Linked DNA regions of Homo sapiens: regions 1, 2, 4, 5, 6 and 7 are each linked to region 3. The links are contacts of gene promoters, found by promoter capture Hi-C in blood cells and fetal thymus (Javierre and others, 2016). All regions are on one chromosome and are shown on one strand. Each heading gives the region's core, a stretch centred on a gene start or on the middle of the fragment in contact. The rest is flanking DNA. Distances are from core to core; before and after follow the strand shown.

What was found. Contacts are between HindIII fragments. The CHiCAGO score rates a contact against its expected background, and 5 or more counts as called.
Region 1: a fragment that was not itself captured here is called in contact with the fragment with the promoter of GP2 in region 3 in 4 of 17 cell types (endothelial precursors, M1 macrophages, M0 macrophages and 1 more); the score reaches 7.0 in endothelial precursors.
Region 2: a fragment that was not itself captured here is called in contact with the fragment with the promoter of GP2 in region 3 in 4 of 17 cell types (M2 macrophages, M1 macrophages, endothelial precursors and 1 more); the score reaches 8.8 in M2 macrophages.
Region 4: a contact is called between a fragment that was not itself captured here and the fragment with the promoter of GP2 in region 3, in 1 of 17 cell types (M1 macrophages). The highest score is 6.1, in M1 macrophages.
Region 5: a contact is called between a fragment that was not itself captured here and the fragment with the promoter of GP2 in region 3, in 5 of 17 cell types (M1 macrophages, M2 macrophages, endothelial precursors and 2 more). The highest score is 12.4, in M1 macrophages.
Region 6: a contact is called between the fragment with the promoter of GPRC5B here and the fragment with the promoter of GP2 in region 3, in 3 of 17 cell types (M0 macrophages, M1 macrophages and M2 macrophages). The highest score is 7.9, in M0 macrophages.
Region 7: a contact is called between a fragment that was not itself captured here and the fragment with the promoter of GP2 in region 3, in 6 of 17 cell types (M0 macrophages, M2 macrophages, M1 macrophages and 3 more). The highest score is 14.4, in M0 macrophages.

The regions. Positions count from the first base shown.
Region 1 is chr16:19,974,777-19,977,825 of GRCh38, reverse strand. LOC105371117 (a long non-coding RNA gene) reads right to left here and starts at 1,457. Exons shown (of 4, transcript XR_950895.2): 1 at 1,410-1,457. The HindIII fragment of the contact is 7,054 bases long and covers 1-3,049 here.
Region 2 is chr16:19,996,050-19,999,085 of GRCh38, reverse strand. No RefSeq gene overlaps it. Among named protein-coding and RNA genes, the nearest start is that of GPR139, 76 kb to the left of the region's middle. The HindIII fragment of the contact is 7,996 bases long and covers 1-3,036 here.
Region 3 is chr16:20,325,837-20,328,817 of GRCh38, reverse strand. It overlaps GP2 (glycoprotein 2), which reads left to right and starts at 1,305. Exons shown (of 11, transcript NM_001502.4): 1 at 1,305-1,351; 2 at 2,351-2,480. The coding sequence starts at 2,387. The HindIII fragment of the contact is 1,228 bases long and covers 953-2,180 here.
Region 4 is chr16:19,948,187-19,950,924 of GRCh38, reverse strand. No RefSeq gene overlaps it. Among named protein-coding and RNA genes, the nearest start is that of GPRC5B, 65 kb to the right of the region's middle. The HindIII fragment of the contact is 5,122 bases long and covers 1-2,738 here.
Region 5 is chr16:19,928,337-19,931,216 of GRCh38, reverse strand. It overlaps LOC105371116 (a long non-coding RNA gene), which reads right to left. Exons shown (of 3, transcript XR_950894.2): 2 at 2,209-2,330; 3 at 1,988-2,089. Among named protein-coding and RNA genes, the nearest start is that of GPRC5B, 45 kb to the right of the region's middle. The HindIII fragment of the contact is 8,332 bases long and covers 1-2,880 here.
Region 6 is chr16:19,883,460-19,886,161 of GRCh38, reverse strand. GPRC5B (G protein-coupled receptor class C group 5 member B) reads left to right here and starts at 1,314. Exons shown (of 4, transcript NM_016235.3): 1 at 1,314-1,435. RefSeq lists a silencer at 761-1,055 and an enhancer at 2,571-2,702. The HindIII fragment of the contact is 5,537 bases long and covers 1-2,702 here.
Region 7 is chr16:19,911,012-19,913,711 of GRCh38, reverse strand. No RefSeq gene overlaps it. Among named protein-coding and RNA genes, the nearest start is that of GPRC5B, 28 kb to the right of the region's middle. The HindIII fragment of the contact is 806 bases long and covers 997-1,802 here.

The DNA of each region.
Region 1 (3,049 bases), core at 240-2,739, 350 kb after region 3:
AGGAAGAGGAGGGATTGGTCTTGCTGTCTTAGGGGAGCAGAAGCAGAAGAAAATCTGCATATTTGAATCTTCACAGTTCAAGCCCATGTTCTTTAAGGGTCAACTGTATTATTTTTTGATGTTATTATTTAAATTATTCTTTTGTGGTAGACAGAATTCTAAGAGGGCACCCAGTGATCCCTGCTCCCTGGTATTCAAGTCCCAGTATAACTCCCTCCTCTTGAGTGTGCAAGGGACCTGTGACTTGTTTTTAATCAACAAAACACAACCAACGTGATGGGATGCTGTTTCCACATTGGGTTACAAAAGAATGTGATTCCTGTCTTGCTAGCAGACTCTATTACTTGCACATTCTGACAAGGACCCATGTGGCAATAAACAAGAGGAACTGAGGTCCTCACTCCAACAACCACAAGGAACTAAATCCAGCCAATGACCACATGAGTTGGAAAGCAAATCCTTCCCCAGTAGAGCCTTGAGATGACCAAATCCCCAGCTAACACCTTAACTGCAGCCTGCGCAGATGAGCTCTGCCTGAATCCCTGAGCCACAGAAACTGTAAAATAATAAATGTGTATTCTTCTAAGCCACTGAGTCTTGTGGAAATTTATTAACCAGCAATAACTAATACACCATTCAATCACTGATTCATTCAAACATTCACTGAGCCCCTACGACATACCAGGCACAATACTAGGGGAGGGGACACAGAAATAACTGGGGCATGGTCTGTATCCTCAGGTTGTTCATTCTAGTGCAGGATCTGACTTGCATATAAATGAGAGCAAGGTACACAGCCTGCAGGAAATAATGCGGAATCCATGCACAAGGATGCAGGGTTAATGTGTGCATGGCAATCTCCTTCCTCAAAATGTAAGTCCTAAGTACTAAGAAATGTACATTTTTTTACTTACAATTTAAAGGGAAAATTTAGTTTAAAATAAAGGAGAAAAGAAACACAAATGTGTCCATCAACAGGAGAATGACCCCAAAAAAGAAAACCAAAACACAGTTATATTTGCAGGCCATGAATCCCATAAAGTATCTAGCAGCCATTAAAAATAATGAAGTAAGTTTATATCTGTCTATATAAGTCTGTATCTGTCGATATGGAAAAAACTCCAAGACACATTGCTGGTTGAATTTGTTAGGAAAAAAATAGCTTGATTGTAAATAGTATCTTATTGAATAGTTGTATGAGAAACAACTATTCAATAAGACACTATTTACAATTTAAAAATAACCAATTTTGGCTAGGCACAGTGGCTCATGCCTATAATCCCAACTCTTTGGGAGGCCGAGATGGGTGTATCACTTGAGGACAGGAGTTTGAGACCAGGCTGGCCAACATAGTAAAACCTCATCTCTACTAAAAATACAAAAAATTAGCCAGTCGTGGTGGTACTCACCTGTAATCCCAGCTTCTCGGAAGGCTGAGGCAGGAGAATTACTTGAACCTGGGGGGCGGAGATTACAGTTAGCCAAGATCACCCACTGCACTCCAGCCTGGGTGAAAGAGCAAGACTCTCTCTCTCAAAAAAAAAAAAAAATCCATTGTGCACACACATATGCATGAACATACACACATAAATAGCATTTACCTTCAATGATACATAAACATGTACAGTAGGTAGAGAACTGTACAATGAGGATTAAGGACACAAACTATGGACTCAGACTTCTGGGACCCAACTTCCAGTTATGCCATTTACTGGTTATGTGACCTTGAAAACATTTCTGAAATGTTTTGAGCCTCAGTTTCTTCATCTGTAAAATGGAAATGATAATGGTGGTATGGTTTGGCTGTATCCCCACCCAAAATCTCATCTTGAATTGTACATTTGTATAATTTGTAATCCCCGTAATCCCCATGTGTCAAGGGAGAGACCAGGCGGAGGTGTCCGAATCATGGGAGTGGGTTCCCTATGCGTTTTTGATAGTGAGTGAATTCTCACGAGATTTGTTGGTTTTGTAAGAGGCTCTTCCCCCTTTTCTCAGCACTTCTCCTTCCTGCTGTCTTGTGAAGAAAAGGCCTTGCTTCCCCTTTGCCTTCTGCCATGATTGTAAGTTTCCTGAGGCCTCTCCAGACATGCTGAACTGTGAATTAATTAAACCTCTTTCCTTTATAAATTACCCAGTCTCAGGCAGTTCTTTATAAGAGTATGAAAACAAACTAATACAAATGGTATATACATCATAGGGTTATTGTGAGGATCAAATGAGCTAATATAAAGTTGATGCAAAGTAAGTTCTCAATGAATGTTTGCTATTATCAGGACTAATACAATGGTTATTATTACTCCTACGACCACTAATGATCTGCAACGATAGATACAAAATAAAAATAATGAAAAGAAAAAAGAAAAATAAGATAATAATATAAACAACAGGGGTATTGGAATGAGAATGGAGAAAAAAAGGGTCTCTATACATATGTGTAATTTCCATTTTTTACAGGGACAACAGTTCAGGTATTGTGTAACTAACAACCAAAATCAAGAAATAGATAGTCAAATAAATAGTCAATTGAAACCAACTCATAAATAGTCAAATAGTAATACAGGTGCTCACGTATCGTGGGGCGCGAAGCAGGAAAGTACTCCGTTTTCTCTGAAAATGGAGAGGGTGTCATGGCAGGCTCTATGGAAAATGCGATTCACCCAGAAACCACCCCTCCCACTGATATTTTCTCCAAGTGCAAATTTTCCTCTTTGTCGTCTTTGTCTGAAGAAGCACTGTGAGGCCTTCCAGAGTCCCCTACAGATTGATAAAGGTCCTGTTGAGAACCTGGGGAAGTGCAGGGTTGAGGGGCAAAAGCTGTTCCCAAAGTTTCCCAGAAACCCAGGAGGACGGCTGGGCCAGCTGCCAGCATGGCCTGGCTGGACCCTCCAGGATACCCAGCAAACTCTTCCAGCCCCGCCGAACTGTGCATTAATAAACTCATAATGAGCTGTCTTCCCATTCCAGGCTACTGCTGCTGCTGAGTGCTGCTGAAGGATACCTGTGTCTTGTGAAGAGGCTTGGCTGGTAATGGTGATGGATGGCCCTT
Region 2 (3,036 bases), core at 19-2,518, 330 kb after region 3:
TAGTTTGCTTGGTGAGTGGCCAAAAATGGAAGTGTTCCATATTCAATATACTGCCATTCATTGTGCCTTTTGAAAAAATAGTCCCAGACTGTCCCATGTGTCAACTGAACACATGGTCAGCGCCAGGCACTAGGAATACAAAAATGAATAAGAGAAGCTCACTGTTCTCCCAGGGCCCATGTGAAACAGAAAAAAAAAAAAAAAAAAAAAAGGGACCAAGAAAGCTCAGCAGCCAGGAGCCTGGGGAAGAGCCCTGTGCTAGGAGTCAGGAGATTTGGGTTCACATTCAAGTCTAAGCCTGCCCCATGGAGCAATTTGGAGCAAGTCTCTTTAGATCTCAGCTTCCTCAGCTACCTCTATAATAGGGGTAAGGGCACTGGACTACCTACCATTAAAGGGTGATTTGGAAGCTCACTAGACAGCCTGTAGGTGACAGTGCTCTGTCAGGGTAAGGGAGTCATTGCAGTTGATTGGTTACAAAACTGTCCTCAATTCTCCACCCCTTCTGGTGTTCCTATTTGATATGATTTGGATGTGTCCCCACCCAAATCTCATCTTGAATTGTAGCTCCCATAATTCCCACATGTTGTGGGAGGGGCTCGGTGGGAGATCACTGAATCACGGGAGCAGTGTCACCCATACTGTTCCCCTGGTAGTGAATAAGTCTTTCAAGATCTGATGGTTTTATAAGACATTTCCCCTTTCACTTGGCTCTCATTCTCTTTTGCCTGCTGCCATGTAAGATGTCCCTTTTGTCTTCTGCCATGATTGTGAGGCTTCTCCAGTGAGTCCATTAAACCTCTTTTTCTTTATAAATTACCCAGTCCAAGTATGCCTTCATCAGCAGCATGAAAACAGACTAATACACTATCTTTTACGATCTGGCTTTGCAACTACTGCCATCAAAAGGTAGACTCTTTCCCCATCCCTCGATCTGGCCTGGGCTTGTGACTTGTGCTGGCCAACTAGAGTAGAAGTGAGGGTGTGTGAGTCTCAAGGTTACGCCTAAAGAGACCTGCTCTCCCATTCACTGTCAGAACACTGCCGTCACCTTGAGGACAGCCTGAGCCACCCTGCAGGAGGATGAGAGACCAACGGACACCAGCCCAGTTGTCCCAGCCAAGGCCAACATGTGAGAGAGCCCAGCCAAAATCAGCAGAACCTCCTACACAACCCACAGATATGTAAACAAGCCCAGCAGAGGCCAGAAGAACCACCCTAATGATCCATAAATGGTGGTTGTTTCAAGCCACTGAGTTTTGGAGTAATATTTTTTTTACAGCATTATTGTGGCAACAGATAATGGATATGGTAGTCCGTGGCTTCAGCATCCTGTTACTACAAAATAAGGTCACATTAACTTGCAAACAAAACAATTTAAATACTATGTCCCATTTTTTTTAATTAAATAGTACAGAAAGGGATAAAGAGAGATCATCAAACCTTTTCTGTAAAGGGCCAAATAGTAAATATTTTAGACTTTGTGGGACATATGGTCTGTGCCATGCAGGCTGTTGTAGCTACTCAATTCTGCCTTTGAAGCTCAAAAGCAGCCACAAACAATATGTAAACAAATGGACATGGCTGTGTGCCAATAAAACTGTGTTTACAAAAACAGGCAGCCAGCTGAGTTTGGCCCAAGGGCTGTAGTTTACTGGCCCCTGGCATAAAGTAAACAGCAAAACTCCTTCTTTTTCCTCTCTCTTCCCCTCTCAGAGGTAATTACAGTTAACAGTTTCTTCAGTATTCTTCTAAACATTTTCTACCTGTAAATGTCCTTTAAACACACACACAGGCCAGGCGCGGTGGCTCATGCCTGTAATCCCTGCACTTTGGGAGGCCAAGGCAGGTGGATCATGAGGTCAGGAGATCGAGACCACGGTGAAACCCCGTCTCTACTAAAAAAAATACAAAAAATTAGCCGGGCATGGTGGTGGGCACCTGTAGTCCCAGCTACTCGGGAGGCTGAGGCAGGAGAATGGTGTGAACCCGGGAGGCGGAGCTTGCAGTGAGCCAAGATGGCGCCACTGCACTCCAGCCTGGGCGACAGAGCGAGATTCCGTCTTAAAAAAAAACAAACACACACACACACACACACACACACACACACACACACATAAATGGTATCATACTATCTGCTGGCACAAACTCAAAATTTTCACAGAATATGTCTTAGATATTTTTCTGTGTCAGCACTTATGGGGTGACATTATTGTCTTTGATTGCTGCAAAATATTTCATAGTAAGGATGTACCATGCTGGACTTTCAGTGGTTTTTCAATATTTTATTCTCCAAATGAATGCTGCAATGGACATCCTCATATAGATAAATTTTGATACACAGCCTAGATTAGTTTTCTTCATGACCTTTATTCAAAAGCATTTAGACAAAAGCTCAGTTAGTGACTGATATAATCCAGGCATTGTGTTAGGTGCTGGGGGGTCCAGAGATGAAGCCACTGGTCTTCCCTTAAATTGCTCATGGTGTCAGCCAGTGGTAATGTCGATAAATTTACTGAGCATTTACTACAGGCCACCCACAGTGCAGTGATATTTACATGCATCATCTCACCCAATCTTCACAACAAAAGCACCCTATGAGGCAAGTCCCATTATCAGCCCCACTTTGCAGATGAGACTAAAGCTCAGAGAGATTGAGTAACTTACCTGATGCCACACAGCTAGCAATAAATCAAACTGGAATTCAAACCCAGGTTCCTGACCATGCTGTCTACACTTGGGAATCAATTGCAAGTAGGAGCTCAAAAGAGGGAGGGACTCCAGTTGACAAGGAGGGAGAGGGAATACCAGGAAAAGTGGGCACAAAGCCATGGGACTGTGAAAGCATGGGACTTCTGGAAACCAGCTCCTGTGATTCAGCATGGCTAGGGTGCAGAGGGAAGGAGACGATACAAGAGATAGAAGTACCACAGGGTCATGGATGGTGCCTCATGTTAGCTGAACACTCTGAACTTCAGCCACTGTGCAAAGCAGTGTGGAGATTTCTCAGAGAACTACCATTCAACCCAGCCATCC
Region 3 (2,981 bases), core at 56-2,555:
GGGGTGGAGGATGGAGACCAGTATTTATATGTTTACAGGGGAAGGAGCAAGGTCAGGTGTTGTGGCCTAAATTGTTTTTGAAGTAGGGTACCAGATATCTGCTGAGAAAGGTGGTGTGAGTGGGTGATAATAGCTGCAGAGACCATTTAAGAGGAATGGGAAGGTTAAGAGTGGCCACTGGGGAGACTGGGATGGGCACCTGGCCAGACTGAATGGATCAGTAGGTGATTTAGTGGGCCCAGTTGTCACAAGTTCCACATTTTAGAGACTATTTATTCTCCAGTTGCTCTGGGAGTAGAGAAGGTGGCTTGTAGCACCTTTTCTTTTTCCAGGTTGAGGTTTTGTAGAAGGTGTTACCAATGCCAAGACCCTCCTGCTCCCTTGACTCCAGTTGCCTTGGCTCCTTAAGGAGTCCCAGAGTGACAGAGAAGAAGCAGTGGCCATTTTTTCTGCAAAAGCTTTGGCTCTTTTATGAAGTCCATGATTTCTACCATGTCATGAAAGCCAGGTCCAAGCCTGGAGTTAATAAGTCCAAGATCCTCTACAGCCTCTTCTCAGTCTCATGCCTTCCAATCTCTAGGGCAGCCTACATATCAAAAGGGATTTACAGGGGCTACTCTGGTGCTTCTTTTGTCCAAGAACCTTTGTCTGTCCTTTGCCATTCCAAAATCCATCATCACCAAATTAGCCATTCCAAAACTGCTCAGCATTAGAAATCCGGAGTTGGGTAGATTCTATGGACCAATAAATGGAATTTTTCGAAACATCCACACTCCCTTCTTTCCTTTCCTATGTGTCCTCTTAGTCTAACTGGCCCCAAGCTCAGTGGCCTTCAGACAGAAGCAGAAATGTTCCAAGATGATTAGCTAGGAACACAAGGTACAACTGAAAATCCATTGTGCAAACAAGTGCCTGTTTGATTTTCTCTTCACTTCCCTTTGGGTATTAAGCTTCCTTTCAATTCGTGTTTGGTTTCTGGTAATAAATATGGCACCAGTTTCATTGATTAATTATGAAGATTAAATGTGAGAAGTCAAGAACGCAAAGCAGTGCCCAGCATGTTCAGCATTCAGCACACAGCACTATTGTTTGTAGGAAGCATTCGCACAATGCTGAGACAGCTGGAAGGGTTGACATTGTGAGGGGAGGGCCCTTCTTTCACCATCCTTTGCGTAAATGGCTTATCTCACCTCCACTCAACAAGCCCAGTGTATGGCCTAGAACTCCCATCATACCTGTGCACCAATTGAGGAGAGACACATGGGTGGGAAATTGCAATAAAAAGACGGCCCACAGCAGGCTGCATTCCCATGGCTGGCCAGAGGAGGAACGCTTTGTGTTCTCATCGGAGGTAAGTCCTGCTTTAAGCCCCAGGAGGCTTCCTCCTAATCCTGGGAAATCTTGATCCACTGGACATGCTAGGATTCTTTGTTTCTGGAAATTTTTAGAACCCAGCAAGTAGTTTGGACCCTGGCCATTGTCAAGTGCTCCAGGTACCACTCTATGTCCAACTCAGTCATGCTTCCAGTCATCTGCGATGCTCCAGGCCTACGGACGCCACCCTCTTCCTTGTCCCAGATATTCCCACCAGGGAACTAGGTCTCTATTGGGATCTCATCTCTAAGAATCACCAATCCTGGGTGCTTCCCTATCCCTGCTGTCTCATAGCATACTCATGGTATCCCTGCCCGAAACCGATCTCTATTTTCCACTGAAGTCTTCCAGAGGTTGTAGGAAGTTATCCAAAGATTTGGCCATTTAGGGAAAGTATTTCCCAGAAAAGTAAATGCCATCCAAATGCTGGCAGGCTTTTTTGCAGCTCTTTCTTTCTGCCTCGCCACCGCCCCCAACCCCCATTGATTTATTTATTCATCCTTAATCCTCTACTGAGTACTCCTTGTGTGCCAGATTCTGTACTAGGAGCAAGGAACATGAGGCTCGGTTTGGCATGGTTCCACAGTCACAGAAATCTACATCCATAGAGGACATTTCAGGGGGCTCTTAGCAGCACCCAATGCATAAAACTAAGAAAGGGCAGCCATTACTTTTGTGTGCAGGTATTCACAGGTACCATATCCCTTTTTCTCTATCCAATCTCCAAAGAGCCTCTACTTCCACCTGAGCAGGGACCATCCTGAGACCTTTCTAGGACATTCTGCAGTACTAGCCAGCTCTAAGCTTGCCTTTGGTTTGCTTACTGTCAATTTTATCACCCATTATCTCGCTCTATCTGTCCATAAGTCACACCTACTTTGAAACAATGCAGCTCTTTATGAAGGAAGTCAACGGATCTGTTTCTAAGAACATAGACCTATGCCCTAATCTTATCTTGGTCTTTTCTTTCCCATAGCTGCATGGGAAGTCTGCATACAGCAAAGTGACCTGCATGCCTCACCTTATGGAAAGGATGGTGGGCTCTGGCCTCCTGTGGCTGGCCTTGGTCTCCTGCATTCTGACCCAGGCATCTGCAGTGCAGCGAGGTAAGTATTCTGCTCACCTGGCATCTCAGATGTCAAGGAAGACCTAGCAAGTGAGGATAGAAGTGCAGAGAAGGTGGCTCAGGTAAGGAAGAGGAATTGGCAGTTCTAAAGCAAAAACTCAGAGCTAGAAGTCAAGGGAAACATAATGAGAAACAATGGAAATCAAGTCACAATCTCTCAAAGAGCCTAATCAGAAATTCCTCTGAAAGGGCAGTGGGAGCCAGTTAACATAATTTCCCATGCCCATATCTTTGGGAGATTAGAGACCCCAGATTAAAGAAGATCAAGAAATACATAACTCAGTCACCTTGTGCTGGCAAGTGCCTTCTCCTTTTCCTGAAAGGGCTAGATTAAGTGATCTCTTTATGAAGTGGGCAATTCAGATACTTGCAGAAAGGAGTCTCAGGCTTAGAATTAGAGTGCAAATTTCAGCCCCTGGAGGAGGGTGGGAGAGGGTACTGAGCTCATTGGAGGCCTCCAGTGGAAAAATACAATCTAAGA
Region 4 (2,738 bases), core at 117-2,616, 380 kb after region 3:
GGCATGCACCACCATGCATGGCTAATTTTTGTATTTTTAGTAGAGACAGGGTTTCGCCATGTTGGCCAGGCTGGTCTTAAAGTCCTGACCTCAGGTGATCCACCTGTCTCAGCTTCTCAAAGTGCAAGGATTACAGGTGTGAGCCACCACAGCCAGCCTGAACTTTTCTTATTGTGCAGAAAACCCATACTGACAGTCACCCCTAGGCGTCCCTGGTGCCTTCCTGAAGACCAGCCAGGCATCCCCAGCACCCTGTCTCAGGCATTCTCCCCACACTTAAAGGACCACACGTGAGACAGATGCCCAGAAAGATGACAGGCCTCTCTTCTCCATCAGAGGTGACAAAGGAAAGTGAAGTAATGAGGGGTTTTGAATAGAGTTACAGGATCAAGGGCCAAGGTGCCAGGTAGGGAGAGTGACAAGAGAGAGAGGGATTTTCTTGGGACTCAACCCCAAACCAACTTAGGCCAGGGGAGGGATGCAGCCCATCTCACTGCCTGCTGGGTTGATCAGACCCAGATATCACCTGTTTCCATCCATCCCTCAGGGATGTCTATAAGTAAAACAGGGAAGCCATTTCAAGGTTTCTCAAGGATATCTCTTTAGGCCAGGGGTCCCCAACCCCGGTCCATAGCCTGTTAGGAACTGGGCCACACAGCCGGAAGTGAGCAGTGGACAAGCAAGCGAGGCTTCACCTGTGTTTATAGCTGCTCCCCATTGCTCCATTGCTCACATTACCATCAGATCAATAACAGCATCAGATTCTCATAGGAGCACAACCCCATTGTGAACTGCACATGCAAGGGATCTAGGATGTGCACTTTTTTTTTTCTTTTTTTGAGATAGAGTCTCGCCCTGTCACCTGGGCTGGAGTGCAGTGGCCAGATCTCGGCTCACTGCAACCTCCACCTCCTGGGTTCAAGCGATTCTCCTGCCTCAGCCTCCTGAGTTGCTGGGATTACAGGTGCATGCCACCACGCCCAGCTAATTTTTTTGAATTTTTAGTAGCGACAGGGTTTCACCATGTTGGTCAGGCTGGTCTCAAACTCCTGACCTCATGATCCACCTGCCTTGGCCTCCCAAAATGCTGGGATTACAGGTGTGAGCCTCCGTGCCTGGCTGGGTTGTGCACTTCTTATGAGACTCTAATGCCTGATGATCTGTCTCTGTCTCCCATTACTCTCAGATGGGACCATCTAGTTGCAGGAAAACAAGTTCAGGGCTCCCACTGATTCTGTTATTGTGAGTTTTATAATTATTTCATTATATATTACAATGTAATAGAAATAAAGTCCACAATAAGTGTAATGCACTTGAATCATCCCCAAACCATCCCCCCGACCCTGGTCCATGGAATAATATTCTTCCACAAAACTGGTCCCTGGTGCCAAAAAGGTTAGGGACCACTGCTTTAGGCTACCCAAAACAGTAAGAAGTAGGAGACAAGAAGTAAAGCACCCTGAGTGACAGAAAAGACAGGAAAGGGAAAGGAGAGAAAGAGAAAGAAGGGGAGGGAGAAAACCATTGCTAGCTGTGGGGAGGCGAGGAAGTTCGGGAGGCTTGAGAAAGACTCACCCATCGCAATGACACTGAATCAAAAGTTCAGGTGGCCGTTTGCCAGCCGCAAAGGGATCTTGTCCAGCAGTCCCATCAGCTTGCAAGTCTCCCCCTCAGAGAGAGAAAGACTCCCCATGTCCTGTAATCCCAGACAAGCCCCCAAAGAATATGTTAGCAACCACAGGTTCCTGGGCTCTCAATGCAATAGAAATCGACATGGTTCCAAAAGAGTTTTCCCAAACAAGGCTTCATTGGAACTTATGCTTGGGCATAAGGGAGGCAGCATAAGAGAGAGAATTCCCTGAACTGATGCCCTGAAAAGAGCAGGTAGGGCTTTTTTACTAATCAAAGCACAGGAATTGACATCGGGGTAGAGTATGGAGGCTGGGCTGGGCAAAGCACGTGAAGGTAGGGTATGCAGGTCAGCAGATCTCCTTGCAATGGTTATCCTGAGTCATGGGCCACCTGGTGGTCCAGACTGCAGCAACACGGCTGCAAACAAATTGTTCAGCATTCCTTCCCCAGGTGGGACACTCCACAACCTTAGTTTTCTCCTAGAGCCAGTTCCTGGAATTTTTAGTAGTGAGGTCGTGGTGGGGTTTTGTGATGGGCGGGAATGCATGAAAGAATGCTGCAGTGGGGGTGAGCTGAAACCAAGCCCCATCTCTACCGTGTCTCACTAAGTGCTCCATAAATATCTCTTGAATTAAACAAAGTGCTTCCTGTAGGAATATCTGGTGATGGAATTCCCAGAGTCATTCTCAATAGCTTGGCACTAAAGCAACTGAAGTCCTCCATATTTTTGTAATTTTTTTCAGGGGTAAAAAGCAATCCTGATGAGTTCTGGCAACTAAAGTATAAAATAAACAAAAGACATTCTTAAGTTGGAAACAGATGCCCTTCACACAGTAGGATTTGTATCTGCACGATTGAGGAGGATAAAAAGCAGGTTTAATTAACAAGACAACAGGGAGGCCCAGGGAGTCATTCATGTGGATTCTGAGTGCAACCCTGGATTCTTTCAATGGCTTTTGGGGTTAACATGATGGTTCTCTGTGACATTGGTGTGCCAGATCGAAACTAGAGTTGTTCCTTCACCTTAATTCAGATACATCACCCAAACTGTTCTACCACTTGGCAGGCCTTGTTATGACATCTGAGGCTTTTTTTTTTTTTTTTTT
Region 5 (2,880 bases), core at 173-2,672, 400 kb after region 3:
TAGCTACTCACAAGGCTGAGGCAGTAGTAGCTCTTGGGCCCAGGAGGTAGAGGCTGCAGTGAGCTCTGATAGCCCCACTGCACTCCAACCTGGGTGACAGAGCGAGATTCTGTCTTAAAAAAAAAAGAAAAAAGAAAGAAAGAAAGAAAGAAAAGAAAATGGGGCTAGTGAGAGCACCTACCTCATAGAGTCACAGTGAAGATTAAATGAGATAATGCACTTAACAAAATGTCCTGCACACAGTAGGTACTCAATAAACTGAAGTTCTGGCGTACAACCTTAAAGGTTTGCACCGTTTATACTCTTTCGCAGGGTCCCACCAAGGGCTAAAGGCACACATGAGCTGCGGAGCTGAGGTCGTGACTGTGGGACTTCGGCAAATCCTGTCACCTCTTCAAAAAGGGCTCTTACCAGGTTCAAATGCAGTAATACATACCAAATGCATCGCCCAGGGCTTGGCACTAGTCGTTGTTTTATGACTGTTGCTATCACTTTTGACTAACATGTATTAGGTACTGTTCCAAGCACTTCATGTGTACTAACCCATTTAATCTTGAGACAGCTCTAGGTAGTACTATTATTTTATTATTGTGCTAATCATCATCTCTACTTACAGATAAGAAAATGAAGACACATAGAGGTTGATTTGTCTATAGAATGTCCAAGAGTAAGTGGCAGAGTTGGGATTTGAACCCAGGCAGTCTGACTCCCAAGTTCCCAGTCCGAACTACCACGCTCTGCTATCTGGTTATTTTAACACACTTCGCCTATCTCACCAGGTTGGACAAGGATCAAATAGGACATGGTAGAGTCCAAATTCTTTAGAAAAATTGCAAAATCAAGAATTCAGGCTGGGCATGGTGGCTCATGCCTGTAATCCTAGCACTTTGGGAGGTGGAGGTGAGTGGATTGCCTGAGCTCAGGAGTTCGAGACCAGTCTAGGCAACATGGTGAAACCCCATCTCTACTAAAAATACAAAAATTAGCCAGGCATGGTGGCACACACCTGTAGTCCCAGCTATTTGGGAGGCTGAGGCACGTGAATTGCTTAACCCCAGGAGGCAGAGGTGGTAGTGAGCCGAGACTGCACCACTGCACTCCAGCCTGGGCAAGAGTGAGACCCTGTCTCAAAACTAATAATAATAATAATTCAGGCAAACCCGCCAAACGGTCCAAAATTCACCTTGAAAAAATCCCTTATTTCATCAATAAAGTAAGCATGGTTCTGAATATTTCGTAACTACCCCTGCCAGCCAGGTTTTTTCTCCAGCAGCAAAACGGAATGTCGATCCTTCAGTTAAACAACCTAAAAAATACCTATTGGAGGGTTGTTTGGTTTGATTGCTTGGCTGGGTGATGATATATTACCCAAGCGTGCATGGTATAACCCCCACTAAGTTAAATGGGCATGTGGTGTGACTCCACCACACCATGCAGAAATGCTGAACTAACTCTCCAGAGGAATTATGGTACCAACTAACACTTACATATAGCCGCTATCACGTGTCAAGTGCTATTCTGTGTGTTTTACATAGACGTGTGGATGAATTTAATCCTGTCAATAGCCCTCAGAGGTCGGTATTGTTGTTATCACCCTCATCTTACATATGGGGAAACCGAGGCATGGAATTTCAGGCACTTGCCTGGCATGACCCAGTTGGATCTGACCCCAGACTCTCTGGCTCCAGAGTCTGTGCTGTCAGTGGCTGTGCCATGCCATCTGTCCAAGGGTCTCAAAGTGAAGGGAGATTACAACCCCACTGTCCTCCGTCCACGCCCCCAGCCACGTTCCTCTATGATCCAGCTGCTCCAAAGAGCCTGTTGGTCCCTGGGAAGAAACAGTCTCGTTGGATCCTCTCTGAAAGCTAATTCGGCCATTTACTCTCAATTTGTAGCGGATGCTGTCGTCTCTCAGATTTCAAAGAAGATGAATGCATGGGTCAAATTGGATTAAAAAGTTTAATTGAATAAGACAGAACCAGACAGCTTGATGGAAGACTTTGATCCGATAAAGGAAGAGGAGAAAGGCGTGCTCCTAACGCCGGGGTGTGATGGGGAGCTGTCTGGACCTCGTCTAGCCTCTTCTCATCTGCAGGAAAATCAGTTATGCCAATTATGGGTGAGATTGCCCTGGGGTGGTGTGGGGAAGACTGTTCCGAGGCATTTTCCAGATCATCATGTCCCGAAACAGGCTGACAGCTTGCCTACCTTCCTGTTCCATCTCCGCCTCCCGACAAACCCAGTTCTGAGCCTCTGAAACTGAGGGATCTTGCCTTAGACCTCACAAAACCCCTGTATCCTGGCCATAACAGGAACCCTACAAAAGAGATCTAAAAGAGAGAGAGAGATTGAGAAAGAGACACACACACCCATTAAACCAATGACCTGCAGGGAAGTCCAACCTATAGACTTGTTTAGTGGACACAGTGTTTTGTTTCCTTCCTAATTAGGAGATTTCCCATTGTATAATCCATATTTGTGTCTTCTCTTTAAATCTTGCTATTCAAAGTGAGGTCCACAGACCAGTAGCATTGGCACCAACTGGGAGCTTGTCAGAAATGCAAGAATCCCGGGGCCCACCCTAGATGTTCTGAACCACAATTTGCATTTTAACATTGAAGTTTGAAGGGTTTGCTTTAAAGCAGTGGTTCTCACCCACTGTGTGCATATCAGAATCACATGAAGAGCTTTGAAAAATCCAGGTGCTAAGCTCACATGCCATCTTTGAATTCAGAATCTCTGAGATTGGAACTCAAACTCCCAGGTTATTCCAATGGGAGGCCAAAGTTGAAAATCAATAGATTAGGCTGGGTGCTGTGGCTCACGCCTGTAATCCCAGCACTTTGTGAGGCCAAGGCAGGTGGATCACAAGGTCAGGAG
Region 6 (2,702 bases), core at 65-2,564, 440 kb after region 3:
AAGGGCCACGGTCCCCAAAGATCAGGGGCTGCCACTATTCCCAGAAGGAGGTGTTCTGCATCTCCCCTTCCTGCAGCCCCCGGGAGAGGGGAGCAGGGGTCCGTCCTATCCCTTTTGGTCTTATGTGGCTGGGATGGTTGCGGCGACGGGGGTAGAGATTGGGGGGCGCACCGCGGAGGGAGAAAGGAAATCTCACCCTGAGAATCTGGAGTGCAGGGAAGGGATGCTGCTCAAAGGTCTGTTTCTGGCTTTGGCGGGGGGCCACCTGAGACTGCCAGGGTTTGATGGTCTGAAGGTCACCCAGGGAACCAGCCCCATATGGGGTGCCGGAGCGCAGCTCCCAGGCCTGGTCGAAGCAATGCGACCTCGGAGAGGCCTGAGGACTAGGACGGGGTGAGGGGGACTCAGAGACGGCTGCCCCGGACCCCTCCTTCAAGCAGGTCCCACGGCCGCCCAGCGGACACGCGTCCGGGCTGTGCCCTGACCGTCTGCGGAGCGCACGGCCAGTGGCCCGGGCCGCTGAGTGTGTGAGCCCTGAAGGGCAGTGGACATGTGCGTACGTGGGTGATGTGTGCGGTAGGGGTGGTGGCGATCCTGCGTAGGGACCCACGTGAGGGGTGCACCGACTGGACGTGTGTGTTTCGAGGGGCCAAGGAAGCGGGTGTTGGTCCCAGTGTGCGTAAACGGACAACGACATCTGGGAGTTGGGCAGTGAGGAGAGAGAAGAGTGTGTCCAGGAGGAACCTGCCTGGAGGAGGCCTAGCGGTGTGTGTGCGCCTAGGTGTATACCGGGGCGTTGGTGACTTCGAGAGGCACCGGGCGGGATCGATCCTCTCTGCGTCCTGGACCTGGTGCTGGTGTGTTTCGGGGAAGTTACTGCTTATGAACCCCCCTTGGAGCGTGGCCTGGGGGCAGGAAGGCTTCCGCGCTGGGACCCCTGGGTCGCGATACCTCCCTCGGTAAGTGTATTGGCTAGGGGAGTGTTCCCGCAAATGGATCTACCCTGGGGAGTTGCCCGGCTCGTCTGGACTGCTTACGGGCGCACTGACGTTGTGGGGGGAATGTCCCCGAATTGGGGGCACGAGGTCGGGGGAATCGTCTCTGAGATCCGGGCTAGAAGCTACGAGCTTGGGCTCCGGGGGTGCATGCAGACGGCGCCTAGCCCCGCGCGGAACCGCCGGCGGGACCGGGGGTGGGGCTCGGAGGCCCGGGGGCGGGGCCGGCCGGGGGCGGGGGCGGGGGCGGGGCCGCGGCCGCTGCAGCAGCGCGGGCCGGGCCAGGGGGCGCCTCGCGCGGCAGCGACTCTGGCAGGCGCTGCAGTGAAGCTGGACCCGCAGGCGGGCGTGCGTGGAGCGGGGGCCGCGGCCGCGCCGCAGAGATGTGACTCGGGCCGAAGGCCAGCTGGAGCGTCGGCGCTGCGGGGCCGCGGGGGTCGGTAAGTGCGAGCTGCGCCGATGCAGTGGAGGACGCTGTGGGGACCCCAGAAACTTTTCCCGCCGTGGATTTGGGAGAATTGGGGGGTCCGCTTCTTGTGTTTTTCTAAGCGCCCCCCCAACCCAAGCCAGGGAGTTTATTGCTGGGGGAGATGTGGAATCTGGGCGAGGGGAACCACGGTGCGACGAGAGCAGAGCCGTAGAGGGGTGGGCGGGGGAGGGGAGGATCTGGGGACCTTTACGGGGGGAGGGAGACTGTGCCCGGACCAGGTAGAGATCCAAGTCTCCCAGGAGGGTGTGGGGGCGACCACAGGTGAAGGGCAGCTGGGAGGGTAAAGGAGCCCAGCCGTGTCCTAGTGACTCGTCATGTGTGAGGAGCTGCGGGCTGGTCCTGGGGCCGCGTTGGGGGCTGACTGTGGACAGGGCAGACGCAGCCGGGGGCACAAGGGCTGGACTTTGGGGGTGAACAGCCGCACCTGTCGCGGGGGCTGGGGGTCAAGCCCGCAGCCGGCTTGAGTGCGCATTACTCAGCAAGGGGAGGGGGGGACACGGCGGTGGGAGATGGCAGAGCTGAGACCTGGGCTGGGGACGAATGACGGGGAGGGGTGGGGAGGAGGGGGCGGCTGCATACAATGGCGGGGGGGGCAGTGGCGTTTCCCTTCCAGACAGGGGGCACTTGGACCTCTGGAAGAGGCGGCTAGGCTGGAGATAAGGACTAGACCTGTTCTCGGTCCCCTCTCCTTGGGGGACACAGGCTTCCAGCCCCACAAGGACCCCACACATCCCGGGGTCCCTAGCGCTTAGGCCGAAAAGGGAGCGCGCGGGAGGAGCCCGCACCCGCCTTGGCCCCGGGCAGCCGGTTGAACAGCCTGGGAAGGGGCCAACGACCTTGCCCCAGAAATCTCCCCCGTGCAGCGGGTTCACTCCTCCGTCCTTGCTCTGTCACACCCAGGCCTAGCCAGTCCTCCCTTTCCGTCCCCCGTTCGCTAAGGGGGCGGCTCCTTGGAGCGCGGACAAAGGCCCCTGGAGTGTGGCGGGCAGCGGCGTCCCCGCCTGGGGCCCCAGCCCACGCGCCACATTGGCCGCCCAACTGCACCAGGCCGGGGGGCACCTGAACAGAGCCCAGAAAGCCCTGGGGGACCCCGCAAAGACAAGAGAAGTGGGGGAGGGATCTGGCACAAAAACCCCGGCACTTCAGCCAAGGAACCTTCTTAATTCAGAAGTTTCTTCGGTGGGGACTCGGGCTTGCGGAGGATCCAGGCTTTGAGT
Region 7 (2,700 bases), core at 150-2,649, 420 kb after region 3:
ACCGCCCTGAACTCGAATAAAGCTCACACTCAGACTCCAGGAACCACCGTCTTTTACATCCCCATCGATCCTCTAAGCCTATTTTTATGATTCCTCTTCCCAGTGAGTGTTGTGTATATTTTTGGGCTGTGTTCCTCTCATAAATAAATAAATGTGTAGGTAAATACTAATAAGAGCTAGCATTTATTAAGCACTTGGCGTGGTGCCAGGGATGGTGCTGAGGGGTTTGCCTGTTATTTTATTTCACCATCATGATGACCTAATGAAACTGGCACCATAATGATCCGCATTTTACAGGAAAGGAAACTGACACTCAGAGGGATGAGGTCATTTGTCATTTCCCCCAAAAAAGGGGCAGAACAGGGATTTGACCTCAAGTCTGTCTGATCCAAAGCCCCGATTACTGAGTTCTGAGCAGCTCGTGTGGACATGAACCCAAACTTCATCTCACTTCCTAAGTGCCTTCCTTCCTTCGGTCCCCACTAATTAAGCTTCTGCCGTCGATGCCAAGCCGGACAGGGAAATGCTAAGTGCTCAAACTAAGCTGATGATTTGAAAATGCCAATAGTCCTTCATTTCTGCTGACCACCCTGAGCCTGGGGCCGGCTCACTCCTGAGCCTGGGACCCAGAACAACGTAATGGATGAGCCGCGTGTTGAGCAATGCTTTATGCCATTCAGGAGTGACTCGGGCTGAGCTCATCTCAGTAGTCAGCGTGTTAATTACAACTGCCCAAATGAGGCCCATTCATCCATTAATACCAATGAGCCAGCTCCAGAAGGCAGAGGCAAGATGACTCGCACTCATGAATCTTGCTCATTGTAGATTCGACAACCACCATGGCCTGGCCACCCAGGCTACATCTTCATTGATATCGAATTATTTGTACTTCCCCTGCAAGTCTCTCCAATTTTCACCCCATCCTTTCCCAAAGAAGACCTCAAAGAAGAAGCAAAAGGCAGCATGCCTGGCACAAAAGACGTGGGCTTCAAAGCTTGAGAGACTCGGTCGAATCCTGGCTCTGCCACTGACCAACAGAGTGACCTTAGGCAGGTCATTTCATGTCTCTGGGCCTCAGTTATCCCATCTGTCAAATGGGGCTAATCACTTCCACCCCTCTTTCGTGTTCATACTGGGAGCTAGAAGATGTGATATCTAAATGTTCCAGCTTGCAGCAAGGCTCAGCGCATGTTAGCTGTTGTTACTAATTGTATCATTAGATGGCTTGGATCACTTTCACGTCATTTCCCCCAGCGCACTGGGGTTTATGGGATGGCAGCTACCATGTGGCTGGAGAGTGATTCCCAAATTTCAGTGCACTGGGGATGCTTGTTTAAAACACAAGATCTGAAGCCCCCAGCCATTCTGATTCCAGAGTAGAGCTGAAGACTGCGTGTTTGGTAACCACCTCGGGGTTTAAGGCTTTCAGACAGCCGTTCTCAGCCCTGCCTACACACTGGGATCACGGGGAAGCGGGGAAAGGAAGTGGGGGAGGTGGGGGGGAAGAGGTTTAGTTTTTTTAATGCCTGGATCCTAACTGCAGAAATTCTGATGTTCTGGGGCCCTTGTGTGGCTGGGATATCAGGATTTTTTTCTAAAGTTCCCCCAGATGATTTTAATGTGCAACCAGGGCTGAGACCTACTGCTATCAGCCAGTGTTTCTCAGAGCGTGGTGCAGGGACCCACACATCGGCATCAGGCTCACTGGGAACGTGTCTGAAATGCAGATTCTCCCTCTGTCCTACCTCAACCTGCTGATTCAGAGACTCTGGGGGTGGGACTTAGCACTGATTTATAAAGCTTTCAAAGGGATTCATTTTTTTGGTGTTTTTTTTTTTTTCTTTTTTTTTTGGATACAAGGTCTGGCTCTGTCACCCAGGCTGGAATGCAGTGGTGCAATCACAGCTCACTGCAGCCTCAACCTCCTGGGTTCAAGTGATCCTCCCACCTCAGTCTCCTGAGTAGCTGGGACTACAGGCTCGAACCACCATGGCTGGCTAATTTTGGGTTTTTTTTTTGTAGAGATAGGATCTCCATATGTTGCCCAGGCTGGTCTCAAACTCCTGGGCTCAGGCAATCCCCCCGGCCGGGGCATCCCAAAGTGCTGGGATTACAGGCATCAGCCACCAATGTCAGGCTCCCCTGGTGATTCTGACACACACTTAAGTTTAAGAACCCCTGCTATAAGGCCTGGCATCCCCCAGACTTCATGCTGTTAAGAACCACTTGGGGAAGAGGTTTGTTATTGCTCCCTTTTCCCACCCTTTCTCTTTTGAACACTGTTGTGTCGTGATGTGAAGCTTGGAGCTTTGGCAGCCATCTTACAAACATGAGGTAAAAACCAAGGCTTCACAGAGATAGCACCCCAGTGCCTCGCAGTCACTGAGTCACTGCCCCAACCTCTGACCCTCTACTTCCAAACTTCCCATTAGCTAAATGCCTTGATTGTTTAAGCTCCTATTATTTGAGTCTTCTCTTACTTGCAATGGAACACATTTTTTATTGGTATAAGTATTCCCAACACAGTATGAGTGCATAGAACAACTTTAAAAGATCCCTGCGATAGGCTGGGCATGGTGGCTCATGCTTATAATACTAGCACTTTGGGAGGTCAGGAGGACCTCTTGAGCCTAGGAATTTGAGACCAGCCTGGGTAACACAGTGAGACCCTGTCTCTACAAAAATTAAAACAAAATTAGT